2 separate regions of the Homo sapiens genome follow, and region 1 is linked to region 2. The links are contacts of gene promoters, found by promoter capture Hi-C in blood cells and fetal thymus (Javierre and others, 2016). All regions are on one chromosome and are shown on one strand. Each heading gives the region's core, a stretch centred on a gene start or on the middle of the fragment in contact. The rest is flanking DNA. Distances are from core to core; before and after follow the strand shown.

Region 1 (2,999 bases), core at 456-2,955, 180 kb before region 2:
ACTGCACCCAGTCCGCCCGCCTCGGCCTCCCAAAATGCTGGAATTACAGTCATGAGCCACTGCACCCGGCCGTAAGAACTAAGCCCTTATTTCTTAACAGGTAACAAGGGGCAGGGTTGAAGGTATGGAAAACATTTCTCAAGCTGCTCTGTAAAGAATTCTCTGGGGCTGGGCATGGTGACTCACACCTGTAATCCCAGCACTTTGGGAGGCCAAGGCGGACAGATCATCTGAGGTCAGGAGTTCAAGACCAGCCTGGGCAACATGGTGAAACCCCATCTCTACTAAAAAAAAAAAATTACAAAAATTAGCCAGGCATGGTGGCGGGCACCTGTAATCCCAGGAACTTAGGAGGCTGAGGCAGGAGAATCACTTGAACCCAGGAGGTGGAGGTTGCAGTGAGCCAAGATCATGCGCCACTGCACTCTAGCCTGGGTATCAAAAAAAAAAAAAAAAAAAAAAGAGAATTCTCTGGATTGTACCAAGACAGTGGAAGACTCCTCTCTCTCTCCTGGTATTAATTCCCCTTCTTTTCAACAATTCCGGCCTGCCTCCAGCTCTTAGTAGGGCATTTTGTTGCCTAGCCTCACTTGCACTTAGAGGCGTGACCAAGCGGCCAAGTTCCTGCAAACGGATCCTGAATAAAAGTGAAATCCATTAAAAACAAGAGTACATTCCTCTTTCTTCCTCTTTTCCCACTACTTGGAAAAAGGTGACAACTGGATAGCCAGGGTTGACCCAGGATGGAAGCTTGTGCCAGTGATCAAAGAGCCACCCAGTCAGCTCTAGTTGGTCACCTCTGGTCCATCTACAAGGGAATAACAAACTTGTACCTTATTTAGACAATGGTATTGGGTCCTTTTTTTTTTTTTTTTTTTTTTTACAGCATCTAAGTCTGAGCTGAACTAATATACTGTTCTAGTCTACAAAGTGGCTTTTCTAAAATCACACATGATTCAGTGAGAATCCCCTGAATAATTTTTTGTGAATCAATGAGAACAGTGTGTAACATCGGCTCCACCCAGACGTGACCTTTTCAAAAGAAGAAGGCAACAAGAAAGTGGCTTCTGATGGTTCCACTTCCACATGCCAAGCAAAGCTCTACCAGGCCAATGACTAGTTACAGCCCCCCTTCTCCCCAGAGAGGCGCTGGCCTGAGGTCAGCTGAAGAGGCTAAGGTCTTCTAGGGAGGAACAGTGATATCCAGCCTTCAGGGGATAAGACTGCCAAGTCTATAGCACCGTGACAGAACAAAAGAGCACCTTCTCACATGCTTCAAAGCCCCTCTAAGTCCCTGGCAGAACCAGGGACGTTTATAACCATCTTCCTTCAAACCAAAAGTACCTCACATGTATGATGGGTATTTCAAAACATTTTACTTTAAAATAATTTTGGACTTACAGAGATGTTGCAAAAATCATATGGCATTTTTGTATACCCTTTGCGCAACTTCCCCTAAGGTTAACATCTTACATAAAAGTAGTTATTCAAATGAAGAAATTTATATGGACAAAATACAACTACCTCAATCTACAGACCTTGTTTTCAGTTTTCCCACTAATAGCTTTTTTTTCTGGTCCAAGATCCAAACCGGGATCCCATGTTGCATTTGACTATTATATCTCCTTTAATCTATCATACTTTTTAAAAGTCCAAGCCAGTTATTTTCAAAATGTCCCTAGTATTTCCTAGATTGGGGTCATGTGCACTTTTGGTAAGAATAACACAGAGGTGATGTTGTACCTTCTCAATGCATCATATTTGGTGGTACATGTTTTTATGTCTTTATTACTGGTGGTATTAACCATGATCACTTGGTTGCGGTGGTGTCCACTAGTTTTCTCCTCTGTAAAATAACTGTTTTCTCTTTGTAAAAAAATAAGTATTCTACAGGGAGATACTTTGAGACTATTCACATATCCTGTTTTTCATCATAGTTTCACCTAACATTAGTGTACATCAATGGTTCTGACCTGCAACAATCATTACTATGATGTTTGCTCAATGGTGATCTTTCATTTCCCTCATTATTCTACATTTATTAGTTAGAAGTCTATTTTAAGGAAGAGCTTTTACTCACCCCACCCCATGTATTTGTTCATCCTATTATTTATATCAACACGAATCATGTATATTTATGTTATTCTAAGGGTTGAAATCCAATACTATCAACATCACAGATTTTTAATCCTGATAATAATTCTGATATTATCTCCGTTTTACAGATTAGAAAAACGAGGCAAGGAGAGGTTAAAAAACCCTGCTTGAGGGCACTCAGCTAGTCAGTAGCAAAGATGCAAAAGCCAGTTCCACTGACTTACAAGTAAGCAAATGACCCAGCCTCTAGGGTAAACAAACTGATGTCATCATCAATCAGCAAAAAAGCAGAATGTGATCTAACAATGAAGGAGACCCGTATTAGGACAGAAGGGGAGAGAAAAATATCTGAAGCCCTTCATTTTAACAACCAAAGTTACTTAGTCCAAAATTACTGGCCATCTTCCCAGACAAGCACCATTAAAGGTAGAGCTCCCCATCCCACAGTGGCCATAACGTAACAGCGCCTACCAAACGCGCTTCATGAGGACAAGATGTAATTTTACCAAAACACGAAGTGCTGACTGCCAACAGCAATAAACAGCAGCATTCGTGATCTAAATGAAGCTTTTAAAATTAAGCTTTTTCAGAAGTTACTCAACTTTAATAAGACTTCATTCACTTTCCCAACTACTAAATCTGCTTTGGTTTGCAATTTTTTTTTAGCTGTTTAAATGGTCAAGGTCCTTACTTTGTGTGTCTGTTTGGTGGGAATGATTTTAATTCAAACAAACAACACTGTCTCCAAGGGAGCATGTTTTATATTCTCACTATTACACCTGGCTTTCCCTATGGTTTTCAAAATCATTGACAAAATTCGTAATTATTATTTTAATGTAAAAGGTGCTCAGGGTCTGATGTATCTGAGCATGCTGAGCTTCAAGACTTTGTCTTGATTACAC
Region 2 (2,838 bases), core at 107-2,606:
ACCTGAAGAGGAAATAATGATAATAATGTAAATTGCTACTAATATTAAAAGGGGGAGGGTATTTTTTCTTTCTTTTTATTATTTTATTTTATTTTATTTTATTTATTTATTTTTTTTGAGTCGGAGTCTCGCACTGTCGCCCCGGCTAGATTGCAATGGCGCGATCTCGGCTCACTGCAACCTCTGCCTCCGGGGTTCAAGCGATTCTCCTGCCTCAGCCTCCGGAGTAGCTGGAATTACAGGCGCGCCGCCACGCCCGGCTAATTTTTTTTGTTTTTAGTAGAGACGGGTTTTCACCATGTTGGCGAGGCTGGTCTCGAACTCCTGACTTCGTGATCTGCCCGCCTCGGCCTCCCAAAGTACTGGGATTACAGAGGTGAGCCACCGCGCCCGGCCTCTTTCTGTTTTTAAACAAAACTTCCATTACAAACATCGGAGGCTGCAAGGCACAAACTGGGGCAGGAGTATGCACAGTCGCCCAGGATGACAAGTGGCAGGTTTTTTGTTGATGGTGGTGGTGTTCTGAAACACCAAACTTTAAAATGAACTGTTACTTAGAGAATTACTGTAATCGGAGCGGACGTGCTAACGCTTTTTCACCCCGGCACAAAGCACGCCCCTTCTGCCTCCCTTTCCCAGTCATTCTTCAGGCGTGCGGGAAACCGCGGACAAGCAGAGCACGGGGACCAGCACGATCCTCCTGCCACCACTCCAGTCTCTGCAGGTGCCAGCATAGAAGAAAACCAGGGCTCTCGCCTCCCTCCCCGCCACTGCGGTGCGGTCCCGGGGTGGAGCCACGGCGCGCCCCATCCTGAGAACCCCACCTGGAGGGGAGCAGGGACGCAGGAAGGGCACCGTTGGGAGGCATCACTGGGTTCGCTGAAGGCACAATCGCGCGCGCACACACATACACAGACACACATACACACACGCACGCACACACACACACACACACACAGCGGCGCGCGGTGGCGCGGGCGGCTGGCGCGTTACCTGTTCTGCCAGCCCTGGAGGAGGTTGGTGTATTTGCTGAGCACGCCCTCGAGCGCCGGCTCCCTCCTGCGGCCGCCTCCCCCGGACGGGCTAGCGGCCACAGAGCCCGGGCTGCTGCGGCTTCCCCCGCCGCCGAGCCCGGCCGCCGCCGACCGGCTGGAGACCCCCCGGCCCGCCAGAGAGCAGGAGGGCGAGGAGCCCGCCGAGGTAGCACGGCTGCTGCTGCGGCTGCTGCTGTTGCTACCCCCGCCGCCGTCTGTGCCCTGGACTGCCCTCTCCATGGTCCGTGGGCGCCCGGGACGCGGGTGCCCGCCGCGGTGGCGGCCCCGGCACGGCGGCTGCTGCTGCTGCTACAGCTCCGGACGCCCGGGCCGCGCGTGCCTGCTCCAAATCCCCGGGAAATGCCTGACTCATACAGGAGGAAGAGGAGGAGGAGGCGAAGGAGAGCTGGGAAGGAAGCCAACGGGGCTGGATGCAGCTGCGGCCGCCCCTCCTCCCGCCGCGGCCAGGGCCCGGCCCCTCCCTCCGCACTAGTTTCCCGGGCAAGTTCGGAGCGGGTGGCCGGCTAGGCGAGCCCTCTTCGGGTTCCTCCTTCTCTTCCTTCGTGTCCCTGCGGCCTCTCAGGCCCTCGGGACACTCTAGGAGGCCGATCTGCAGGGTGGGCACGCCCTAAATCCACGCCAAGTCACCCACGCATTCCTTCTGCCACCCTCTCTTGGATCCGAAGGGGCGAAAGGGAATCTCTGCACGTCACTCCCCACCCCTTATCCACCTCGGGACCTGGAGGGAGGGGCAGCCCCACCCACCCGGTCCACCCGGATATGGACCCGCCCGGCCTGACAGGCTCACACGCACACTCCCTCTCTCGGTCTTCCGCACACGATGCTGCGCCAGACGCTCCTACACAGTAACCTGGAAATTATCACCGGCGGAGCAAAGTCACAGCTCAGGGAGGCCCTCCGCGTTGTCTGGCGGAGGAGGGGAGTGGCAGGTGATCCTCACAGGTAAGCTCGCCGGGCATTTTCATGCAGCAGGATTATGATAAATGCTTAACAGACACACGGCTGGGCTGGGGTGAGGCGCGCGAACTCTCAGGTTTGTGCGAGTGCTTCCTTAAATTGAGTGTCCTAGGTCACTCACTGGCCTAACCCTAATCCCCTGCCCTGAATGGCACGCATAAACCTGGCAAGTCAAAACCTATCCATTGCTACCACACTGCACGTGCACCTAGGAGCAGAGGCTCTGAAACCGGGAAAACTGCTCCAGAGGCAAGGGAAATTAACAGATATTTACAAACATTGAAGGATTCTCTGTGTTGGCTGTAACTTCTGCGCCCCTCTTCCTACCTAAAGATACTCTTTCTATCCCACTAATATTTTTTGTGAATATAGATATCCATTGTAATCTGAAGTATCAAAAATTACCTAGAAAAAAGCTTTGAGGAACTCAGACTCTCTCTCTCACACACACACAGACAAAACAAAAGGTGATAGATGATAGGTGATCTCCGTCCAAAGGATCTACAAACCCATCAAGCAGATAAATACTTCAAGAGTTAAAAAAAATTACTAAATGGAAAAGTCAGCTCTCAAAGGGACAGTTCCCCGAGCCCAACCCCTTTCTAGCTTCACATCCTTCCAGGAAGATTTCATGGGTGGTTTAGCTCTAGAGATGCACGGAGAAGCTTCTGGAGTTGAAGAGAAGTGGTTGTGCCCCTGAGTAAATTACAATTCCAGGTGCCTACATAGTGTTAAAAAAAAAAAAATCTGAAAAGAGCTTGCCTGGACCAAATTTGAAGCCATTCAGAGCTGAATTCTAACCTATGACCTTGATCAAATTACCTCT

The links. Contacts are between HindIII fragments. The CHiCAGO score rates a contact against its expected background, and 5 or more counts as called.
Region 1: a fragment that was not itself captured here is called in contact with the fragment with the promoter of OSBPL10 in region 2 in 2 of 17 cell types (naive B cells and total B cells); the score reaches 6.8 in naive B cells.

The regions. Positions count from the first base shown.
Region 1 is chr3:31,802,110-31,805,108 of GRCh38, forward strand. The region is part of intron 4 of OSBPL10 (oxysterol binding protein like 10); the gene reads right to left. Among named protein-coding and RNA genes, the nearest start is that of OSBPL10-AS1, 99 kb to the left of the region's middle. The HindIII fragment of the contact is 1,914 bases long and covers 749-2,662 here.
Region 2 is chr3:31,979,906-31,982,743 of GRCh38, forward strand. It overlaps OSBPL10 (oxysterol binding protein like 10), which reads right to left and starts at 1,357. Exons shown (of 12, transcript NM_017784.5): 1 at 994-1,357. The coding sequence starts at 1,274. ZNF860 (zinc finger protein 860) reads left to right here and starts at 1,845. Exons shown (of 2, transcript NM_001137674.3): 1 at 1,845-1,997. RefSeq lists a silencer at 1,047-1,116. The HindIII fragment of the contact is 3,310 bases long and covers 1-2,426 here.